Regions from separate parts of the Homo sapiens genome. Here region 2 is linked to region 1. The links are contacts of gene promoters, found by promoter capture Hi-C in blood cells and fetal thymus (Javierre and others, 2016). All regions are on one chromosome and are shown on one strand. Each heading gives the region's core, a stretch centred on a gene start or on the middle of the fragment in contact. The rest is flanking DNA. Distances are from core to core; before and after follow the strand shown. Region 1 holds the start of NCAM2 (neural cell adhesion molecule 2). Region 2 has its middle 170 kb from the start of LINC01425.

The links. The method cuts DNA at HindIII sites, captures the fragments that hold promoters and counts their contacts. A CHiCAGO score of 5 or more calls a contact.
Region 2: a fragment that was not itself captured here is called in contact with the fragment with the promoter of NCAM2 in region 1 in 2 of 17 cell types (M2 macrophages and M1 macrophages); the score reaches 11.9 in M2 macrophages.

The regions. Positions count from the first base shown.
Region 1 is chr21:20,996,099-21,002,439 of GRCh38, forward strand. It overlaps NCAM2 (neural cell adhesion molecule 2), which reads left to right and starts at 2,311. Exons shown (of 18, transcript NM_004540.5): 1 at 2,311-2,520. The coding sequence starts at 2,466. The HindIII fragment of the contact is 4,236 bases long and covers 1-3,240 here.
Region 2 is chr21:21,917,069-21,923,409 of GRCh38, forward strand. No RefSeq gene overlaps it. Among named protein-coding and RNA genes, the nearest start is that of LINC01425, 170 kb to the left of the region's middle. The HindIII fragment of the contact is 5,101 bases long and covers 194-5,294 here.

The DNA of each region.
Region 1 (6,341 bases), core at 1,061-3,560:
GTGATTTTGTGTGTGTGTGTGTGTGTGTGTGTGTGTGTGTGTGTGTGTGCTGAAGTCATTCTTTGGTATCCACAGGGGGGACTAGTTTCAATACTCTCACAGATCCTTGGATGCTCAAGTCCCTTATATAAAATAGCATAAATTTGCATATAACCTCCTGCATATTACATCATCTCTGGATTAGGTGTAATACATTATATAATGCAAATGCTTTGTAAATAGTCACTTTGCTGTATTTTTTTATTTACGTTATTTTGATTGTATCATTGTTTCATTTTTTTTAAAGTTATTTTTCATCCATGGTTGGTAGAATCTGAGGATGTAGAACTGTGGACGCAGAAGGCCTACTGTGTAGCATTTATCAATGCCCAAGAGAAATGAAGAATTGGAGTAAATAAATGAGTCACGGTCTTTCACATCTATAAATGTGCTACTTCCACCCTTTCCTGCAAAGAGCTGACCATGAGTTTACTTAAGTGTGGTTAGTGCATTCCAGAACCAGTAAAGGGTGTGAGAAGGGTACCGTGGCAAAATAACTTTCTAAATATATTGTCTGCTATAAGATCAAGAGGAAATAAGAGGTTCTCTAGCTGTGAGGTGCTGAGAGGGCCATTGCTTAAGGCAGTTCAGCGATGGTGAGTTGAGGGCCGCCTTTCCCCTCCTCTCTTCCTGATAACCCCATCCCAGGATGCCAAGTGGACGAATCATCTGTATAAAGCGCTCTGCCTGGGGAGGACAAATCGCAGACGGTATCTCCCCTATGCATGTTAGCCTGTGTCTACTCTTGCCCCCTGCCCTCCCTGAAGGCAATGCACTGCCCTTTTCAGCGTGAAATCCCCAGGCTGGGGCTGGATTCTGAGCTCTACATTTCTACCTCCCCCCTCTCCAACCCCCGCTATTTCTATGTCCTCACTGATAAGGAAGGAGCTAGGGTCCTTGTGGAGGCCGGGGCGAGGCAGTTGAGTTTTCTAAGGAGCCAGAGAGAAAGTGCAGATGAAAGGACCCATCGTCAGCGTTTGCAGGTCGCGGTAACCCCAGGCCAGATTGACATGGGCTCCGCACCCGGGCCGGTGATTCTGCCTCTTAACCGCTCTTGCAGGAGAGGTGACGTTAATCTCACAAACGTTTTCCTACCCTTCTAGGAGAAATAACGATAAGCCCCAATCTTAAGGAGCAGAGAGTTAGTTCCGGGCGTTTGCCACGGCTCCCTCACTTCAATTTACACTCGCACACGCGGGTACGTGGGTGTTCGGGGTAGGGCACTGATCTGGGGAAGGTCTCCCCCCCGCGACCCAACTCATCTTTGCACATTTGCAGTCCTCCCTCGGTGCACTCCTGGCGGGGATCTGGCCAGTGCAGCGCACTGGGACCGAGGGCAGAGCCCGCGGAGTGAGGCCAGGAGAGACTTCAGGCCTCTAAGGACACAGCTGAGGCTAAGGCTGAGTTGAACGCAGCCCCTCCCGCGGCTCGTCCCCTCTCCAGTGTCTCTCCCGTAAGGTGCCGCTCCCAACAGCAATGGGTCGAGATGTAGAGGAAACACTCTGTACGTTATTTTTCCGCCCACCCTTTAGCGCCTGAGGAGACAGACAGTGTAGACTTTAGGGTACAATTGCTTCCCCTCTGTCGCGGCGGGGTGGGGAGCGTGGGAAGGGGACAGCCGCGCAAGGGGCCAGCCTGCTCCAGGTTTGAGCGAGAGAGGGAGAAGGAGGTCCACGGAGAGACAAGAATCTCCCTCCTCCCACGCCCAAAAGGAATAAGCTGCGGGGCACACCGCCCGCCTCCAGATCCCCCATTCACGTTGAGCCGGGGCGCGCTCGGGGCGGTCGCCTGCAGTATCAGTATCAGCATCAGCATCAGCATCAGCATCTGCATGAGCATCAGCTCAGCTCAGCTCAGCTCAGCATCAGCTCAGCTGTCCTGAGGCAGCCGGCGGCTGTGAAGGAGCTCCAGGCTGCCCCCATCCCCACGCCCTTCTCGGCTCAGGGCGTGCATGAACCTGCGGATGGCCGGCGGGCGAGTGGCGCCTTCGCGATCGCGGCCGCCCCTCTAGGCGGAGGCACCGGGGACCGAACCCGTGACTTCGAGCTCCACTGCGGACGAATCCCGGGACCGCGCGCCTCGCGGAAGAGCGGCCGCCGTGCAGCGCGGAGGGATACGCCTCGGCCGCACCTCCCCTCGCCGCGCCCCCGCCCCCGCCGCCCTCCCCGCCCGGCTCTGCTGCCGCCGCGGCGGCCGCTGCTGCTGCTGCTTCTGCCGCCGCTGCCGCCGCCGCTGCCTGGATATAGTGCGGCAAGAGCGGAGCTTGCAGTCACTTTGCGAGGAGGAGCGCGCGGGCTGCGGGCGGCTGGGGCACCGCGGGAGCGGCGGCGGCGGCTCTAGCAGAGGCGGCCGGGGCAGCGAAAGGTTCTCTCTCCAGGGCTGGACTTAATAACTTTGAAACTGTCCACCGGTGTCACGTCCTGAACATGAGCCTCCTCCTCTCCTTCTACCTGCTGGGGTTGCTTGTCAGTAGCGGGCAAGGTAGGAGTGTGGCGCTTTATTGCATTTACTTTCCCTCCCCCTTCCACCCGGCCAAGAGAGGCAAAGAGGGAGGCGCAGGAAGAATGAAATGAAAGAACTAAAGTTACAGTTATTGCTGTTGTTGTTATTATTATTTTCGTTCTTTCTCCTAGCTGTCCCTAAAATTGTATCTGTTGTGTGGAGACCCTTAAATAAGAGAAGGGAAAATACAGAATTGGAGAGGGGAATCGGTGAGCAGGATATCCAGGGAAACCGCTTCTTCTTCTTCTTTTTTTTTCCTCTGGGATTATGGCTTTCTCTTATTTTTATTATCAGAAATTGGATGAGTGTGTTAACAGTGAAATATCTGAGGTTGCGGAAGGAAAGGGCACGATGGTGTTTTACAGAAGCAGCAAAAACTATCAGTGTTAAACTCATTTGCAAAATATCTGCTGTGTGCAAGACGTTCGATTCTTGGAGACTCTTTTTTTTTTCCACCCCTTTCCCAAAACCCTAATTCCTGACTATGAAGTGAATGATGATGGCTTATTTCTGTTGGAAACTAAGAGAGGGGCCGTGGATATTGTGTGTAAGAAAGCAAATGGATAAAACTAGGGATGTGTTGCAGTCATTCATTTTGACCCCAACCCCTTATTAATACAGAAAGGTGGAATCATTTTATAACATTACATTGTAATTACACCTGTAGAGGATTTTTGGGGTTGTGGGAGAACTGGTGGAAGCTTTTATCTCTTAAAAAAAAAAAATGAATAGCCTGGTAGAATAACCTGAGAGGGAATTTGTGGAAGCTATCACTGTTTGTCTCTAGAGAGATAGATATGAATTTATCTGGCTGTTTAGATAGTAAACACTCACATGAAATATATTTACAATAAATGGAAGCATTTTCAACTGTCCAGACAAGTTTGGACGTTTAATTAGGGACACAAAATGCTAAAACATGCATTGGTGAAAGTCTTTAAAGGAAAAATAAAATAGCACTAATTTTGAGATATGTAATGATTGCAAAGAATGTTATGTTGTTAGTGTAGTGTGAAATTGGTTTTTTAAAATAATATAATAAATTACAAGACAAGTTAAAATATCCCCAAGATATTCAGTTCTAAGCATTTTTAGCCTCTTCTGTATTGCTCGTTTGGTCCAGCAGGGGGTGGTAGAACTCCATTTTAAGCCCAGAAGTTGGTTTCTGCTCTTCCACAGAGTCCTTCTATCATTCTTCAGCAGGGCTTGACATTTTGGATGTGAAGCCTTCCTTTTTCTGCCCTTCTCCTCCCCACAGCTATAGTGTTAGTGGCGGATGAAACACGATTGGATGCAGATTTAATGTTCAGAAATCAGTATGCAAATGTTGGATATTCCTATAGTTTGTAAAGTGTCTTGATAAGATTCTGCTCATTTTCCCTTCCTAACATAGAGTATGAAATATTTCAGTCTTAGCAAAATTGCAGATATGTCCATCTGAAGCTAATACTAGCCCAATTCGTTAATTCAGTGGTTCTTAAGCAAAGATCAGCATGCACATATGTCCTACAGATATGCTTCTTTAATTTTCAGATAGCTGCTGATTGTGTTTAACTGTTCATTTATAGCATAGACAGGTATTTTTGAGCACCAAGAAACAATCCCTGAAAATTGCAGTTAAAATACAACTGCAATTAAATAAGTGTAGGTAGTGTGGGGCAGAATGGGAGCATAATAGGAAACAAGTTTATGCAGACTTAGGATTACATTGTGAGTGGTTTGGAGAAGAAAAATGTCTCAGTTGTGGAATCTGAATTTATCATTGTAGAGGCTAAGTGTGTTGGAATTTGGAGACATAGGAAATTAGAAATGTTTAGATATATAGGTTTAAATAGTACACAGAGACATAAAATTTGGATGTGTACATGTAACATAGATGTGAAATTGTGATTCAGCTAATTTGTAAGTCAGGATACGAGGTGGTTATGAAGAGGCACTCTGAGACAAGCATCTCTGAAGGGGAGCCCATATTCACTGTAATGAAACAGGGTAGAAGGAGACCATCATTGTAAAGATCTCTCTATCTAGTACAATTTCACAATGTGTGGCACTCATAGAGACACAGATATATATCAGAGAGACGTAGCTTTTGTGAAAGGGAACATATAGTACTTCTATGCCATGTGTCCTGATGAAGTCAGAGATGCTTGGATATAGATATCCTCATCCTGGAGTCCAATTCCTCTATGCTAGTGTTTTGTTCTCTAATTAAGGATGCAGCAGCAAGTATCAGACACACCACCGGGAGCTGTTTAAAAAAACAGACCTAGTGTAACTCATGATTTTGTTTATTCTCTTGTAAAGAGGGCCATGGAAAAGCCACCAGTCAGTGATCCCTGGTCTTGCCTTAGAAATACTAAAATCTCAGCTTGCTGATTTATGTGTCCAACAGTATACTTGCAGGGGATTTTATGAAGCATGATTGAAGCTATTGCTTTGGAAAGTGGTGTGCAGTTAGACTGAGGAAAGGCAACAATGATGTATTCCCTTTTTAGGAGTCAAAACGTTTTGAACTGAAGCAGTTGAATAGGAGAAAATGACATTAAGTGAGAAACTGACTAACTTAAGTGAATGCCAATACTATAATTAGCTAACAAGGCCTAATAGTTTACTTGTAACTCTCAATACAACCTTATTGTTGTACAGTAGTAAGACGCTTTTTTTTATTGTAGCAGAAATACTCCTTTAAAAGCCTCTAATTTCCACTGCAAGATTAATGTATAATGAAGTAAGGTTAGAATGTTATTGTGAAGTCTGAATTTAATTGTCAATGAAAGAAAATGCTGTAATTCTGTAACTTTTGCAATTATTTTTCCTTTGTGTTCAAAACTTGGTCACAGGCTTTGTAATCATAAATCTCAAGTGATAACTTCAGTTTCTGATTAACTGCATTTGCTGTTTGGATCTTTGTATATTCAAATTTCCAAACTGTTGTATGTATGGATTGCTTTCGTGAGAGTTTTTACATTTTTGAAACCACTTCCTTCTTCCTTTAAAAATTAAACAAGTATGATTAATAAGCATTTTTCCTGGATGTTCACATATGTAAGATAGAAGCACTGTTATACTAAAACCTAAAGTAAGAATAATGCTATTCATCTCTCTTGCAATGCAGTTCAAACGTACCACTTAGAACACTTACCTAAGCCAAAATCGTGAGGAAAGGAGGGGTGAATTGCCCAGTTGATCAGTTAAAGCAGTCATCTGCTTACAGTTATTCTCTTTGGTGAAGTGCTAGTAAGTCATTGTACATTACAGCAATGTACCTTCTAAAAATAGAGCACAGGTGTGTGAGTGTCTACTAGTTTGAAGATTACAGGAGAGAGCTCCACAAACTCATCTTCTGTCGGGGCTGTTACATGGCTCCAGCCTCTCTCGTATGCTTTTTCTATCTGCTGTGCTCTAATTCTTTGATATCAGCCTCTCTGTGCAAAGTTTCTATTAAATCGACTGGGTCTTCTTTTGCACTTGGGGAAGATGTAATGTAAAGGCTAATGTAAATTAATATCTTTATTGTCAGAGTAACCCAGAGGATTTCCCTCACTACTTCATATCAAAGGAGTTAGGCAGAGTATTTTCTCACTTTTAATGCAGAATCGGAGCCCATAGAGCAAGAAGGGAAGTTGGTGGGTCCCGAGAGTGTCAGATGAGTCTTTTCAATGACACAGGGAGCTAATTTTCTCCCCGAGGTACTGTCCTACTAGAGAAGCAATTAATGGAACAAAAGAACCTCATTCAGTACCAAAAGTTAGACTTCATATGATTTTGTAAATAGAATGGCCTTCTTTCAAAAATAGGAC
Region 2 (6,341 bases), core at 1,494-3,993, 920 kb after region 1:
ATACATCAAAGGAACAGTCTTGCAAGCCAGGAATGCTGACATCAAATAATTTTCTGTCCCTCTGCAGACTAATCAGTCATGATGAGCCAGCTTTGAGCAAAACAACAGGAAGGGGAAGGAAGTGAGCCTCCAGGCCGCCCAAATTGGTTCCTCATCAGCCCACCCTTTGGTGCTTGGGGTATCATTAAATATAAGCTTCACAATTAGTTCTGATTGATGCTACATCTTAATGGGTTCCACAGTACTGTCTGAGAATAGTGTAGTTTTCCAAGTGTAGCCTGGTATGCTTGATAGCCAGGAACACCATTTGAACGATATTAAGGAAACCACAAAAAACTGGATTAGATGCAAAAGGATTGATCCCACTTTCTGAGGAATTTGCCTTATGAGTCATCACTAAGATTGCTTGTTATAAAATATTTGGAGAAAAAGATAATTATTTACTCTCAACCCACTCCCCTGTCATTTCCCAGGTTTGAGCAAGTATATGCTCACAGGAACTTAAGTCTGTCATGACCACTTGAGAATGAGGCAGTTGATTGATCAGTTTTCTGAAGTGATAATTTCTTTGTTTAGTTGTTGGTGTCATCCTAAGTGACCTCTGGGGGCAGAGGAGGGTGGTCTGAAAACCAGCTGAAACACAAGTTTACATTTGCTCCAGGTACCCTTGATAGGAGCATACGATCTGTCTATCCATCCCCTTAGATCAAAACACCCACTGGATAAAACTTTTATCCATTTTCAGACATTGCAGATGAATGAATATGTAATGGCTTAGAAAGAGTCACAATTCTCACAATCAAAACTACAATGACATATATTGCACCCCAGTTAAAATGGCTTTTATCCAGAAGACTAGCAATAACAAATGCTGGTGAGAATATGAAGAAATGAGAACTCTCATAAACTTGGTGGGAACGTAAATTAGTATATCTGCATGGAGAAGAGTATGGAGGTTCCTCAAAAATCAGATTTGACATACACACAGAAAAAAAACAGAACTATATTATTCAGAAGAGAAATGAACTATACAATTCCTTCTCAAATAAGGAAGAGAAGGACTCTATTTGGTAAAGGAGTGGAGTATGGCAGGAGGCTCAGCTGAGTCGGAGGAAGCCACACTGCCAGGTGTGGGAGTAGCCAATGAAGACAACAAGCCAAAACGAGAAACAGTCAAGCCTCCCATCACTTATTGCCATAATACAAGCAAGAGGCTAACCTGGAGAAATCACCATTTCCCCTGTTCCGTGTCCTCCCCAGGAATGGCACCAGAAGAGGGTCAGGAGGAATAGTTCAGGCGTGAAAATTATATCAATTGAAGTGAGACCGGTAGACCTCTCGACATATAACGACTCAGCGATTCCATCCAAACCCCTGCACTAAGAGATGACCAAACTCTAGAATGGCTTCTATAATAGCAGTATAAGGCTGTGTTCCTGGGATGACCCCAGCTCTCCCCCTACTCTACATCCTCCCCTTTCCCCTTATAATGTCGGCCTGAGAAAGCTCAATGTTGCCAAATGAATTTACTATTTGTTCCATCAAAAACCTGCTGATAAGCAGATAGGCTGTGGAAAACCATCTTGGAGAAGCTACTTCAAAAGACTGCTCCATTCAGGCTGCTATAACAAATACCATCGACCGTGTGGCTTTTAAGAAACACAAATGTATTTCTCACCATGCTGGAGGCTGGAAGTCTGTGATCACAGTGGTGCCTGTTGAGAGCCCTCTTCCAGGTTGCAGGCTGCGGTCTTTTCATTGTATCCTCACATGGTGAAAGGGATAAGGAGGTTTTCAGGTGTTTCCTTTGTAAGGGTTGTAATCCCATTTATGAGGACTCTACCCTAATAATCTCATTAACTTCAAAGACCTCACTTCTTAACACCATCATAGTGGGAAAGAGGTCTCAACAAATAAATTTTAGAAGTACACAAATGTTCACTCCATAGGCAGCTTGCAATTATGTATCTTTTTTTTTTAATCTCTTGTAATGGACGTGAAGCTAACACTCTAAACTGTTTCTTCAAGGACCTGAGAGCTATCTCTGAAATGCAAACATTCAGGGAGATAACTTGTTCTTTCACCCAGTCTCTGTGGGAGGACGGGGACTAACTCCTGTGGGTCTGTGCCTCCTTGTCACCTGTCATTATCCCTAGGTGATGAGATGGCTCACTAGAATTATCTCCAAAAAGCAAAATTAAAAATGAAACAGGGTACCAGGATGAGTAAAACACAGCTTATCTTGGGTTTCTAGTATCATCTAAGGGAGTTACTGAAACACACTACTAATGCCTCATGATACTAGATAAAATTTATTGGGGATAAATCAAGAAGGGATGTAGCACAGTGCATGCTTTTCCTTATTATTCTACAGCCTTATGTTGGACATAGTTGTTCTTTATGCAGTTTCACTGAGATCACAACAGATATAGTTTGGCTCTGTATCCCCACCCAAATCTCATCTCGAATTATAATCCCCGTGTGTGGAGGAAGGGAGGTGGTTGAATCATGGTGTTGGTTTTCCTCATGCTGTTCTCATGATAGTGAGTGAGCTCTCATGAGATCTGATGGTTTTATAAGTGTGTGGAAATTCCTCCTTCACTCTCCTCTCTTGCATGCTGCCATGTAAGATGTGCCTGCTTCCCCTTCTGCCATGATTGTAAGTTTCCTGAGTCTTCCCCAGCTGTGAGTCAATTAAACCTCTTTTCTTTATAAATTATTCAGTCTCGGGTATGTCTTTATAGCAGTGTGGAAATGTACTAATTCACCAGCTAAAAAGAGTATGTTTGGACTAGTAGGAGTGAGAATACCTCAACAAAGAGAGCAGGCTCTGTTCCCATCCTATGTTGCTATCTCTAGCATAAGCCGAGAGGTCCTAGGTAACACCTATTTTTTTCCAAGAAACCAGAAAATATATCAAGGAATTCCTAGGCTCAGGAACATATCTAGGAAATATGCATAGTGAGTATCATGTCTATTCACAGAGGGCCTAGAGAGCAGCTTTGCGTGGCAGGAACACACAGATCAGCCAGAGGTGTCGTCTCTCTGCAGAACACTTACTCTAGTGGAGCCATGTCTCTGCTCAGCTTCCGACCTGGCTAGGAAATCATATTCCAGGGTTATTACAATTGCTTTCTCATCATATAACTATATTTCTCCCACATTTTTACTATAGCCAGGAAAAAAAAGTCAAGGTTTAAAAAAATGACATATTCTGTTTGAGTTTCGATTTATTTTTAGTAGGCTAAAAAGAACTTCCATATTGTACTTGACCTCAGTTGGCGTGTTTATGTAAAAAACAGGGCTCTTTCCACCTTTTATTTATTTATTTACACACTTATTTATTTATCAGTTCAAAGTCTTTTGCTATGTGTGAGTTTACTTTGAATGATGTTGGGGACAAATATAAATAAAGTTGTAGACATTGAGAATTTTAGAATAATGTGGGACTCAGTCCATAAGAAGGTAAGAACCACAAACTATATAGGGAAATATAGACATAAATTAGACAATTTCAACACTTTATTACAGTAGAAATACCTAGAGAATGAAGTTGAAAACCATGAAAGAGAAGGAAGGACCTGCTTGAGGGAGGAAAGGGTGTCAATAAATTCTTAAAAAGAAAATGCAACACTTGAAAAAAAGATAAAAGAAGCAAGCACTTTACAGATGGATGTGTTTGGAGGTGAAATTTTAGGCTGAGGAACAGAATTAATAAAGACTTGACATTAAGAGAAAACATATCACTGGAGAGTTTAACATACTTCATAGAATGCCTGGAACACAGAGTGTGCAGAGAAGAGAGGGTTAGTGATGAGTTTAATGGATATGCATGACCTCCATCTTGCCTCACTAATAAATTTATCTTTGAATTTTATGTCATGGTCAGTTGCTGGTATATTTGATGCAAAGAGAAACCAAAATAGAATTGTATTTAGAAAGAACACATGGGCAAAATATGGAGGATAGATTAAAAGAAAGTGAAATTAGCATTTGAGAGGCCAACTGGGAGATGACTCTAGGAAACCAAATAGGTGACTCTTCCTTTGAATAGCTTTCCATTTTTATCACAAATTCACAATTTGTTACCCATTTGTAATTTTACATCAAGTCACAATTAAATTCAACTATAATAAACAGAACTCAAGGGCCAGTGTTTGGCAGTGAGATTAAGAACTAAAAAAAAACTGAAACAGAGCAACAAGCATATAAATATATAAATAAATGGAAAGGTCAGAGTTAAAAAGAGAATATGCAAAGTGGCTTGGAGTTTTAAAAATTCAAAGGGAAATTCAGTCAATGAAAATAAATTAAAGCCAAAAAGGATTATGAGCAAACTCTCTGAAGTTAAAGAACCCGCCCTACACACTCACCATATTTGTAACATTCTTATCCTTTTATTACAGCAAACATTCAAATGAAACCATTAAAATCACTGCCACAGTTTGATTGCAAGACCTTATCAAATAATGGATTTGACATTATTTATCTTCAAAGACTCAACATTCCGTCTAAAGCCCTGAGGCCTTGAATCTCCACTGAAGCTATAGATCATCTTCACAGATATGACTTTGATCTGATGACCATCTTTGTGAGGAAATTTTCCTTTAACTAGTGTGTGTCCTAATTAAAACAGAGGTATCTGCTGCGATTAAAAAAAAAAATCAAGGCATTTCTTACTAAGATTTCATCTGAAATACCTTCATGGTCAGTGGAACCTCAGAGATCCAGGTGCATTATACCTGCACGCTAATGTTTTGGCTCCCCCTGGAGGATATTAGTATGTCACAGAATTTACTAAGTGACAGAGTCAAAGCTAGTTTCCCACAAGCAATATAAAGTTGAAAAGATGAAAGATGAAAGGAAACAATAACAAAAAATAGGGGGTTCTGATTATATGATAGAATAACTGGTACTGAATTTGCCATCCCACAATAAACAACTTTAAAGCTAGACGGGGTATTTGAGACTAATGTTATTAGTCAAAAGAAAAGAGGCAACAAAAGACTGATCACTGAGGGAAGGGAAAATCGGAAGGCAAACCTCAAAATCACCCTGGCTCCTGGTGAAAGTATCCTTAAAAGTGGCAGAGCAAGCTGCATTCTTAGCAGGGCATGGTGTTACTACTGGACCCAAGAGCAAAAATCAGAGTTCAGATCAGCAATCTTGGATCTACAGGGCAAGACACTGGAAAGGAGGTAGTGTCAAACGGTTGGTAAGGAGGAGGCAGAAATCTTTATGAGGGCTTCCTGTGATGAACGGCTTGACAGAATGTGCGGAGCAAGAGCGCATGAAGCTTACAGTGGAGCAGTTTCAGCCAAATGTAGAACAAAGCAACAGAAATAAGAGAGGTCAGACAGTGCTACAGGGACATCAGAGGTCTAGCTCAGGTAAAAGGGAAAGAGATCGTTAATCATCTCTCAATCTCAGGTCATCAAGTCAGAGACCATGGAAATGCTAAGAGTTTAGAGTAGAAACAATGCCCAAATCATACGTATTAAAATGAGAGACACCATTAGGTTAGAAGTAAAATAATAAGCATAAAAATCCTAGTGACTATCTTATTACGATACAAGTAGACTTTATAAAAAAAGAATGAGTCAAGAAATAAAGACATTTCATCATAATAATAAAGGAACAATTCATTAGAAAGACATTATTTTCTAAATATGTATACACCTAAAAACAGAACTTGAAAAATGCATGAAACAAAACTAACAGACAAATTCTAAAATTTGAGGACTTAACATTTCTTCTGTCAGTAATTAATAGAATAAGTAGAAAAAATACAGCATGCATATAGGAGATCATAACAACACTATCAACCTACTTGACCTAATGAAGATTTACAGAAAGGTATGTCCAACAATTACAACTCTACAGGCTTTAGAAATACACACAGAAAAAAACATATTTCGGTCCATAAAACAACGTTCAATGCATTTCAAATTATAAAAAAATACAGTGTTTAGCCTGACTCAAACTGTATTAAATTCAAAATCAATAAAACAAGAAACAGAAAATTCCCCAATATTTGAGAATTCTATGACACATTTCTAAGCAGCCCATAGGTAAAAGCAAACATCCCCAAATTATTTTTAAAATATTATAAAAAAAGGAAAACTCAAAATATTTAAATATATAAGATACTGCCTAAATAGTTCTTAGAAGCAAGATTGTAGATTTAAATGCCTATAATTTAAGAGGAATAAATTTTGAAAACAATTGTAGGAGCTCCTACCCAATAAGCTCAATAAGAACAAATTAAATTAAAAATAATGGGCAGTAAATAATAAAAATAAAAACAGAAGTCAATGAAATAAAAGACAAGAGTAACAAAA